Linked DNA regions of Homo sapiens: all the other regions are linked to region 2. Evidence: promoter capture Hi-C in human tissues and cell types (Jung and others, 2019). All regions are on one chromosome and are shown on one strand. The core of a region is centred on a gene start or on the middle of the fragment in contact, and the rest is flanking DNA. Distances in the headings are between cores, read along the strand shown. Region 1 overlaps PLEKHA6 (pleckstrin homology domain containing A6). Region 2 holds the start of SNRPE (small nuclear ribonucleoprotein polypeptide E). Region 3 overlaps PLEKHA6 (pleckstrin homology domain containing A6).

Region 1 (3,737 bases), core at 1,148-3,647, 460 kb before region 2:
TTTATCCCAGCCAGGGTCATCAGAAAGCAGCCAGGGCTCCAGCTCTAATTTTGAGAATAATGAGGTTTTATCCAGAGAAGTCAGGGAACTGGCTTTCAGAAACACAGTGAGTCAGAGGATATGCCTCAAATGGGAAAGGAAAGCCAGCCATCCCAGCTCTCTGATACCTGCCCTGTCCTTTCCTTAGGAATGGGAGCAAGTGAGAAGAAAGGAGAGAGGATTGGGGTTTGGCTTATACTTGCTCTTGTATTTTTCCCTTTTGGAGGCCTGGGCTGTCTCTTGCCCTTGAGACAGGCCCCCTGAGTCCTTGGTCTAGAGAGCCAGGTGGCTGTGCCTCCTCCCCAGGAGCTTGTGGTCCCCTGGGGCCTGGCACAGCGCTCGCCCATCTGCCCATGCAGATCAGAGATGGAAATCTGCAGTTAGACCATTGGACACCACAACGTGCATGGACAGATGAGGAAGTCTGCTTGCAAGGTGCCAATCAACGACGGGGCTCTCAGCGCTCTCCTGGGCCTCAGCGGGCCAGAGACTGCAGGCCAAGAAGGGGCTCCCAGAAGGGGCCCGTCGGCATCAAGGCTCACTTGCCCTGTGCTAGTTCCTTATCGCTGTCTACTTCCTGTACCTCTCCACATGTGGGGCACTAGAGACACAAGACACCCTCTGTGGGCCTTGAGAGGGAGACAGAAAGGAATGGAGCTGGGGATAAATCAGGAGTGAGGCCTCAGCGCCAGGTGGGTGGGAGAGGTAGGAAGGACAAACAAGCAGGAAGCCCTGGTACTGCTTTCTTGGGCATTAAACGAGGAAGAATGGTGCAAAGTGAACAAAATGAAATACTGTATTTCTGTTTCACTGGGCTCGCGCCTGTTACATCCTTGAGCTACTTCTTTTGCTGGGAGTTCAGCCTTGTGACTCAAGCATGTGAGCAGAGAGTGGCAGGGTTTCTATCCCAGGAGGAGGAGGAGGGGATGGAGAGAGACTGGGGAGAGGCTGAAACCCAAGTAGCTGCTTTGTCCACAAATCCCTACTACAGAGGCTGCCGTACCCAGCGCGCTTCTGCCTGGACCACTCCCTGCCTAAGTGCGGAGGCCCCAGGGTTTGGGCAGTGAGCAGTTCCTCACCCTATTTGGATCATATAGGAAGGAGGGAGCTAGTCTAAGGATGATGAAAGGCAGTGAATGCTGAGTGAGGTCAAGTCCTAGTGCTGAGCTCCATACTGGCACACAGAAGGCACTCATAAAATATATATGGAATGAATGAATGAACCAACCAACCAAGGAGAAGGAAAGGGGTTTGATTACATTTATCCTCCGACTCTTAATTCTCTAGCTTAATCCCTAGCAGTCAGATTTAGGGCTTGGACAGCAAAAATTATTTGCTAGAAATGTGTTGTGAGAGGGTGTAAGGCTCAATGATCTATCACCTGGAGCACTGCTTTGTGAATTAATTAACCAGGCTTTTGGTTCTCTTCTTTCTCTTTTGTCTCCATGCCTCTGTGGTGCTCACTTGGGTTTGGGAGGTGGCATGGACTGGGGCAGCCATGCAAAGTCTTGTTAGAATGAGAGCTGGGAAGCCTCTGTCTATCTGTGCTCTCATGGCCCTTTTTGGGTTCTGAATATGGGTCTCGATTGTCTCTGTTTCTTTGCCAGTGCTTTGCACATAGTGGGCACTGATAGAACATTTGATGAGCTAAGACGTGACCGTGTGTTGGCACAGGCAGGAGGGAGAAGCTTCACTCTCCTGGCTGGTTGGGTCTAAGGGAGAGAGGAGCTGAGTGTCTACTTGTGCCCTCTGGTCTTCACAAACTGAAGGGCACTGTTGGAGCCGGGCTCTGTTTCAGCTGGCAGAAGGGGGCATGGAACTGGAGCTGCCCTCAGCCATGGAGAAAGTTGGCCACAGCAGGACTGGACACGTGGAGTGCTCAGAGCCTGCCTCACAAAGCAGCTTAGGAGAAAATTAAGTGGTCTCAAGCCAGGGGAAGCATGGCTCCCTGTGCTGGATGCATTAGGGAGACGGCTGGGCAGGGTGAGGAATGGGGCTTGCTGTGGGCAGAGGGACTCTGCCCCTTTTGTGTTCAGCCCAGTCTATATGTTAATGGCAGCCCAGCGGTGCTTGGCTTTGGCAGCCTGGAAATGGCAGCTACTACTTCTCCCCATGCTGCCCTTCCACCCCTTGTTCGCCTGGGCCCTGAGATCTCTGCAGGACTAAGTGACCTTAGGGACAGGCAGAGTAGAGTCTTGCGCCAAGGCCTCCTGGGTTTGTTCACAGGCTACTCTAAGAAGCCACCAATAAGGAACTTTCTCAGGGCTCAGGGTCCTGAGCACCTTTAGAAGTTTCTAATAGGATTTTGTCTTCCAGATAGGAAGGAAAACCCATCCAGATCTTATAGAGGAACCAAAGCCCAGCGAGGCAGGTACTTGCCCACAGTAACGTGTGTGCTGAGGGCTCACCAAGCAGGCAGCTGGGCATTCGGGCTCCTAGTCCTGGGACCTGAGCTCTCAATATTTCTGAGCATGAAGATCTCATGTGGTGCCCATTGGTTCTTTGTCAAACCAGATATTTATTTACGTGAGTTCTTTGGTAGGACAACCAATTTTTCTCAGTGTGCCTGAGACTGTCCCGGTTTGAGCACTGAAAGTCCTGGGCAAACTGGGACAGTTGACCACCATGTCCCTAAGGATTCTCCCCCTGGCAGCCCTCTAAACCCAGTTTGCATTTCTCTTTATTGCTTTAATTGCAGGAAACATTTCTTCCTGGCATTCGTTTTCTATGGGCTGACCCCAGAGAGCTGAACTTGTAGATAACTGGGAAGTAACGTTGCCTACCCAAGGTGCCTGACACTAGACTTTCCTATCTCTCAGGAGCTCTAAGACAATCAAAATAGTTGCATCTCTCTAAATGCAATTGGGGTAACTGAAGTACAGTGTGGAGGTGGCTCCTGCCTCTCCCTTGCTGAAAGCTCTGATCAAATTCTGTATTCCTGGGAGGCTGAGGCAGGAGAATGGCGTGAACCTGGGAGGTGGAGCTTGCAGTGAGCTGAGATCACGCCACTGCACTCCAGCCTGGGCAACAAAGTGAGACCCCATCTCAAAAATAAATAAATAAATAAATAAAATTCTGTATTCCTGCATCTCCTCTCTTCTAAGTAACTCAGGCATCATGTGATCTCCAGTCTCCTTTATCCAACACAGTCCCTAAGCCAAAGGACAAAGACACAAACAGGTGACCCAATACCCTTTTAATGAATGGAGAAACTGATATCTATGGAAGGTTTAGTAAGCTATTGGCCTCAGGTCAGATAAAAACACCAGGATCCTAATCGACTTCCAATTCAGCACCTTTAGACATAAAGCCTTCAGCTTTTGTGACTTCTGGAATAGTCTCTCCACTTTCACTCATTTCTTCTGAATTGTATCCCTCTCAGATAAGACTTTGTCAGAGAAACTCAACCTCAGAGAAAACTGTTTCTAAGTTCTCTTCATTTGGTTCCTTTCCTTGTCTTATTGATGGTGAGACATTTCTGTCTCATCACGAGCTGCCTCTCTAATGGGGGCTGCAAAGTAGCCAGAGCTGGAGTTTCCTATTGCCCAGCCCTGCCCTTCGTATCCTATCCCATAAAGGGCTTATTCATTGAGGCCCCTTTCTTTATCCTATTTATAAATCTTTTCAGCATGTCTTTGTGCCCAGTGACAAACCCTATTCTATCCTCTACTTCAGCCTTTGAGATACTAAAAATTTCC
Region 2 (3,643 bases), core at 334-2,833:
GAAGTATACAAAACCTAACCATTTTGGTCAAACGACAAGAGAAATATGGCTCCTAAAAAAATTGTAATGAATGTAAGTCAAAAGTTTTAACTAATTAGCCCATATCTAAGAATTATTCACCAATAATAATAACCTCAAAAAGAATTTTCATTTAATAAGTTCTATATTGGAACTGTATAAGCTAATAATTTTCCTGTGATTTTGGGACTCAATATTTCTTACTGCTTCTGGTCTCAATCTATTAAGAGTGAAAGTTTTTGACAGCATAGCACAAAGCAGTAATTTCTAATGACCAAGGGCTTATCTCCTGCAGCAAAATCCAGTTCCAAAACAAAGCCTTCTCATGTCACACACCTAACAACTAGGACAGGAGCCCTCAATTCAGGTGGTTAAGAATTATTATCACCTGAAATTAATGTTTTTCAGTTGTGTTATCACACTATAAAATTTAAGTTGCTAAAATTTCCCTCAAAGGAAAGCAGCTGCCACTAAACTCCTCTGAAGCTACCCCTTCTCTCTTCCTTTTTTCGTCTTTAAGTTTTCCCACAGGTATTAAACACACCACCTCTTGACATGGTTTAAGTTGGCTGGGTTTTTCTTCCAATGTTTCATCCTAAAGGGGAGAGGTTCCAATGTTCTAGCCATAATCACTACTAACAAAACTACTGATGCCCAAATACCATGGTCAAGTCTGCTAATAATACTTTTTGGAATTAAAAAGTATTTTTGATCTTGCAAAGTAATGGATACAATTCTTTGCATGTTGGGAAGTGGCATGGATACACACCACTTCATCACATTAGTGCTTTCTAAGTACTCCTTCCCCTCAATTACCCTCCAATCTCCAGTTACATCTATTTTTAAATTCTAGAACACAGCGATCGCTCAGGTTAACACAAAAAACTAAATCAGTTCACCTCTTATTTAAAAAGTAGTTACGAAACAAGCAACTTACGTACATTTTGTAAGTATCTGAAGATGAGGTTCTGCACCACAGTGGCTAAGGAAAAAATACAAAAGCAGCATAGACTCTGCTTCCTGAAACAACCGGACGACGCTATTCCCGTCTCACCTTTGTTTACTAAACGCGAGGTCTGGTGCTTACGCAAACAACAAGTGCCCAGCTGGGCATTCGTTACGGGTCTTCTAAAGACTAAAGAACATCCATTCCACTTTCATCCCCCTGGAGTTTCCCAAAACCGTTAACTCCCGTTTTCACTCCGCACCTGAAGTTCTCTTCCCTCCTTTTGCCGCGTCCATTCCTGCATTCCCCACGGCAGGGGTCCCCCCAAGACCACCTCCCCACCATCACGGTTCAACTACCCGCGCTTTCTTCCAGTCTTGGTAGCCCCGGGGGCTCATGGGATGTGGATCCGTACTCCACTATCCCAGGCCTGCCCTCAGCCTGCGCCTTCGCACCCCGTATTCTGACCCGAACCTCCTAGTCCTGACATCCTGCGTAGGATACGATGGGCTGCACCATAACCTTCTGCACTTTCTGACCCTGGCCACGGTACGCCATGGTGGAATTTCACAAAGAGCACACCCGCACGCTGCCTCTGAGAGCAACTTCCGGAATAAAGAACCGGAAGCGGAAGTGTGAAGGTCACGCGGCGGCATGGGCGGCTCCTGGGAAATGCCCCTCTAGCCATGAAGTCACGTTTCTTCGCTGCATGGCCTCCGAGGGAGGCCAAACTGAGGCGTCTGCGCTGTGGAAGGTGGGCCGGTCCTACAGCGCCACCTGGAGGGAGGCGGGAGGAGGTGCCTTCGGTTGTATAGTGGCCGTGGTAGGAGGAGTGCCGTCCTGTCTCCAATTTCTTTTCTTTTTTTTTTTTTGAGGCGAAGTCTCGCTCTGTCGCCCAGGCTGGAGTGCAGTGGCGCGATTTCAGCTCACTGCAACCTCAGCCTCCAGGGTTCAAGCGATTCTCCTGCCTCAGCCTCCCGAGTAGCTGGGACTACAGGCGCCTGCCACCACGTCCGACTAATTTTTTGTGTTTTTAGTAGAGACGGGGTTTCACCATGTTGGCCAGGATGGTCTCGATCTCCTGACCTCATGATCCGCCCGCCTCGGCCTCCCAAAGTGCTGGGATTACAGGCGTAAGCCACCGCGCCCGGCCTGTATCTCCATTTTCTGAGTTAGCTTGAAAAGCCAAAATCGTCCCAGTGTGTATCTCTATGTGTAAAATGAGTTAATTTCGTGCCTTTCCTAAAGCCTATTTTGCTGGAGTTTAGGCTTGATAGCAGCGTTGTGGTGGAAAGGGTAGGGCGGCAAGGAGCCCAAACTTCAGGCCTCCCACCTCTGGCAGTCGGCCAGAGGCGGTCTGCATTCCAAAGCCAGACGCCTGGTTCCCTCCAGTTACGGATTCAATTCTCATCCATTTCGTGGAGAGTTACTGTTCAGGTGGCAACTGAGGGTGGCGATTTACCAGGAAGACGCTGAAATCCACATGCTGGGCGCAAATCCAGCTCTTTTAGAGTTGGTGACCAAGGATAAATTACTCAGCCTCGCCATGTCTTGGCTTAGTTTCCAAAACGGAGATTATAGTAAAGATTAACTTTACTCAGGGGCTTAAAGATTCAATGAAATAATTGTCTATGTGTGCACACAGTTAGGCGTCAGCCAGTGTCAGAACATGTCCTTCCCTGGATAACACAGCTACTAAGTGGAGCAGCTGGAATTTGTAGGTGTGCCTGACCCCAAAGTCCACCTACCTTTCCATTGTGTCATGGCTTGTGGCCTGGCAGAGATTTCACTTAATTGGCATACACATGTTATAGAGGAGGAAACTGAAGTTTAGACTTTTGAAAGGACTTGCCTAAGGGAACACGGATTAGGGCAAATGGCAGAATCAAAATTAGCTTTTCTGAGGGCTTCTGTTTAATGGGGATAATAGTAATAACGACTTCAGAAAGGGGTTGAGTTGAAAGTGATTTTTAAACTACACAAAGCGGCCAGGCTCACGCCTGTAATCCCAGCATTTTGGGAGGCCGAGGCAGGTGGATCAACTGAGGTCAGGAGTTCGAGACCAGCCTGGGCAACATGGTGAAACCTTGTCTCTACTAAAAATACAAAAATTAGCCATGCATGGTAGCACATGCCTGTAATCCCAGCTACTTGGGAGACTGAGACAGGAGAATCACTTGAACCCAGGAGGCAGAGGTTGCAGTGAGCCGAGATCATGCCACTGCACTCCAGCCTTGGTGACGGAGCGAGACTCCGTCTCAAAAAAATAAATAAGAATAAATAAATAAATAAACTACACAAAGCTGGCAAATGCATGGGATAACTATTTCCTTTAAAAAATTTCAGCCAGGGCTGGGCACAGTGGCTCATGCCTGTAAATCCCAGCACTTTGGGAGGCTGAGGCAGGCAGATCACAAGGTCAGGAGTTTGAGACCAGCCTGGCCAATATGGTGAAACCCCGTCTCTATTAAAAATACAAAAATTAGCTGGGCGTAGTGGTAGGCGCCTGTAGTCCCATCTACTCAGGAGGCTGAGGCAGGAGAATTGCTTGAATCTGGGAGGCAGAGGTTGCAGTGAGCCGAGATCGCGCCACTGCACTCCAGCCTGGGTGACAGAGCAAGACTCTGTCTCAAAGAAAAAAAAAAAAAAATTTCAGCCAGGTGCGCGAGCTCATGCCTG
Region 3 (3,474 bases), core at 638-3,137, 380 kb before region 2:
TGCCCAGCTAACTTTTGTAATTTGTAGAGATGGGGTCTTGTCATTTTCCCCAGGCTATGCCCTCTACTTTTTATCCGCTGATCTGGGGAGAATAGGAGGGTATGGAAGTGATATCATCCCTCTCCATTTTCTCTTTATTTCAGTTGGTGGTGGGATGGGCTGTTACATCTCTTGTAAGGCTAGTGTTTGGCTGTCACCAGAATGTCTCAGCCTGGTGCCCCTCTCCTTCGGTCCCTCCATGCCCTCTTCCCCAGATCTTTGTGCCTCTGGTACCCTGGCCCCAGGGTCCATTGCAGGATAAGGAGGAATGCCTTGGTGATGGCGGCTTTCTCAGTGAACGCCTCTTTCCCCCGTAGGCCCTGACAAACAGCACCATAGAGTATGAGCACCTCGAGTCTGAGGTCTCTGCCCTGCACGATGACCTCTGGGAGCAGCTCAATTTGGACACCCAGGTGAAGAAGGGCCCCTGAGCTGGCGGGGATTGGGATGTGACTAAAGATGAGGAGTTGGCCTCGAGACAAAAGCAAAGGTTCCGGCCATTGATAACAGACTCTAAGTTTCAGGATGAAGATAATGGGACGCTTTAGGTTCATCTCACAGGGGAAGGAGTTAAAGCTGAAGCTTGGGAGACTTCAGTTAGACACAGGTGTTTTATGACTGAAAGGATTTTTTTTCCTCTTGGGATGGGGTCTTGCTCTGTTGCCCAGGTTGGAGTGCAGTGGCGCAGTCACAGCTCACTGCAGCCTTGACTGCCCCGGGCTCAAGCAATCCTCCCACCTCAGCCTCCTGAGTAGCTGGGACCACAGTCATGAACCACCATGCTTGGCTAGTTTTTGTATTTTTTGTAGAGTCAGGGTCTCCCTGTGTTGGCCGGGCTGGTCTCTAACTCCTGAGCTCAAGTGATCCTCCTGCCTCAGACTCCCAAACTGCTGGGATTACAGGCATGAGCCACTGTGCCCAGCAGGATTTAAAAACAGACGTGTAAATATAAATAACTCAGGCATTAGAAGAGTAGGCGCTGCGGGAGCAATCTGCTCAGGAATTTTTAGATAGGAGAGAGGCTTTTCTTCCTGGGGTGGGTTAGAAACAGTCTGCCTGGAGGCAGGAGGATTGACATGATGATCTTGGGGAGTTCTTGTTCTTTTCTTCCCTCTGCCTTTTCTTCACCCAGGCCCTGCCTCTTCTCTAGCTAGTTTGCAAGCCCTGTCTCTCTGATGCAGTTAACACCCTGGTTTCCCCCATTTTCTTCTGTTTCCCTCCTGGTAATGCTACTCACCACCCCTACCTTGCAGCTGGTTAGGTAGGGTGAAGACCCACCTGGTCCAGAAGACCCAAATACCACCATGTCCCGTGGCCAAGCCTCACTTGAAACACAGACATTTTAGTAGGGGGGATAGGGTTGTGGTCAAGGGCGCTAACTTCGGGTCCAAATAGACCCATATTGAGATGATGGTCATGCTGCTTACTAAATAGATGGCCTTGGGTGTAAGTCTCTTCATCTCTGAAGAGGGGATAGCTGCTGCCCTTATCTCCTAGAGTCATGCAGCCGAAATGAGTTAGCACTGTATATGCAAATTGCTTAGCATAGTGCCTGGTGCTGAGGGATGCTAAATAAATGGGAGGTCTTACCTTTTAGACTGTCAACTGTAATTGAATTCATGACTCTTCAGGCGTACGCTGGGAGTGGGTATTAGAAAAGGGCTGTTTGGATGTGAAGAAAAGCAGTAAAATGGAAGCTCTTGCCCCACGAAAAACAGGATACCATAAAGTGTTCACTTAGATGGGCATTCACTCGAAAACCACCCATCTTTCCCCTGAGGGAGCTCGGAAGGGTGCGTCCTCAGTCTTGGTTCAGAAACTCGGGCAATTCTGGGGTGCCATCTCCTAGAGGCTGAAGAGCAGAGGCAGCCCATGGGAAAGATGACTGCTGGAGGGGCATGTGTGTGTGTGTGTGTGTGTGTGTGTGTGTACACAGGGTGCCTGCCTCCTGCTGGCCCAAAGGGATGTGGGTTCCAAGGGGTCTGGGCTGAGAGAAAGGGCTGGACACTCCTCATGGCCATTTCCTTTGACTCACTGTGTGGCTGCTTCAGAATGAGGTGCTGAACCGGCAAATCCAAAAGGAGATCTGGAGGATCCAGGACGTGATGGAGGGGCTGAGGAAGAACAACCCCTCCCGGGGCACGGACACCGCCAAGCACAGAGGTGGGTGCCTCCTGTGCCAGCCTCCTAGGCTGCCTGCCTCACCAGGAGTGCTCCAGTATTTCTGACCTCCATCCCACTCCTGCCAGCTCACACTGTGTTCAGAGCCAGGCAGGGCCTTCTTGGGACACCAGAATCTTCCCCTGGGTTCTAGGGTGGTAGGTAGGGGTCCCTTACCCCCCACAGAATAGACCAAATAAACAACTCAGAGACACTGTTGACCCTGACACTCTAAAGTCCTCCCCAGAAAAGGTCAAAAGCACCTAAGCCTCCCCAGCCCCCAAGCACATGGGCCCACTTGTGACATGTGACCCCTACCTTAGAGTTTTCCTTGAGCCCTGGGACCTCAGACTGGCTTTCCTTGACACCTCAGGGACAACAGTATCAGTTCCATCTACCGTCTTCCCCACCCAGCACACCTCTCAACAGCCAGCCTGTGGCCCCAGAACCTGTAATGAGCCCCTTTGGCAGGCCCAGGTAGCCCTGAGACACTAAATCTGCCCTTCCACATCCCTGGATCTGGCTTCTCCCTGCCACCTCCACTCACAGTGCCCATCTACCCACCAGGCCGCACCCCTCCTCCATTGCTCACCCATCCCCTTGTTTCCCCCAAGGAGGACTTGGCCCCTCAGCCACCTACAGCTCCAACAGCCCGGCCAGCCCCCTCAGCTCTGCCAGCCTCACCAGCCCCCTGAGCCCCTTTTCACTGGTGTCGGGCTCTCAGGGGTCCCCCACCAAGCCTGGCTCCAACGAGGTAAGTTGAGAAATGGAGTAGAAGGTAGGTGGGGGAGGGAGGACCAGATCCTCGTTTGTCTGAAACTATACAACTTCTGTGCCCATCTCTTCCCCACAGGCCTCCAGCCCTAGTGCTGGAGCTCTTTGTTTAAGGAGGTCATTCTCACACCCCATTTTGTGAACTTCTCTCCAGGTTTCCCCTTTACCTGTTCTCATCTCCATCTGTCATCTTTAGCTCCCTTGCAGTGAAGCCTGTTCCTGGGCACCAGGATGGATAGCAGACAGCATGCATTTCACAAGAATTTAAATCTAGGATGATACCAGGATAGCAACAGGGTTAAGGGTCAGTGTGGGGAGCAGTTTCCTAGTCAGTCAATCAGCAAGTGTTTTCTGGGGCTCGACTGTGGGCATGGGGTACCATGAGGCCCTCTTAGAAAGATACACACGTGGCAGGGTGCGTAATCGTGTAATCCCAGCATTTTGGGAGGCCAAGGCGGGTGGATCGCTAGGTCAGGATATAGAGACTGTCCCGGCCAACAT

The links. Contacts are between HindIII fragments. The study calls those that stand out against the background at their distance.
Region 1: a contact is called between a fragment that was not itself captured here and the fragment with the promoter of SNRPE in region 2, in 1 of the 25 tissues and cell types used here (IMR-90 fibroblasts).
Region 3: a fragment that was not itself captured here is called in contact with the fragment with the promoter of SNRPE in region 2 in 1 of the 25 tissues and cell types used here (IMR-90 fibroblasts).

The regions. Positions count from the first base shown.
Region 1 is chr1:204,324,285-204,328,021 of GRCh38, reverse strand. The region is part of intron 1 of PLEKHA6 (pleckstrin homology domain containing A6); the gene reads left to right. Among named protein-coding and RNA genes, the nearest start is that of PLEKHA6, 34 kb to the left of the region's middle. The HindIII fragment of the contact is 5,474 bases long and covers 1-3,737 here.
Region 2 is chr1:203,859,539-203,863,181 of GRCh38, reverse strand. It overlaps SNRPE (small nuclear ribonucleoprotein polypeptide E), which reads right to left and starts at 1,583. Exons shown (of 5, transcript NM_003094.4): 1 at 1,469-1,583; 2 at 960-986. The coding sequence starts at 1,522. RefSeq lists enhancers at 478-1,053, 1,439-1,698, 1,507-1,801. The HindIII fragment of the contact is 11,861 bases long and covers 1-3,643 here.
Region 3 is chr1:204,244,343-204,247,816 of GRCh38, reverse strand. It overlaps PLEKHA6 (pleckstrin homology domain containing A6), which reads left to right. Exons shown (of 23, transcript NM_014935.5): 13 at 357-452; 14 at 2,091-2,202; 15 at 2,814-2,953. Among named protein-coding and RNA genes, the nearest start is that of GOLT1A, 32 kb to the right of the region's middle. The HindIII fragment of the contact is 7,881 bases long and covers 1-3,474 here.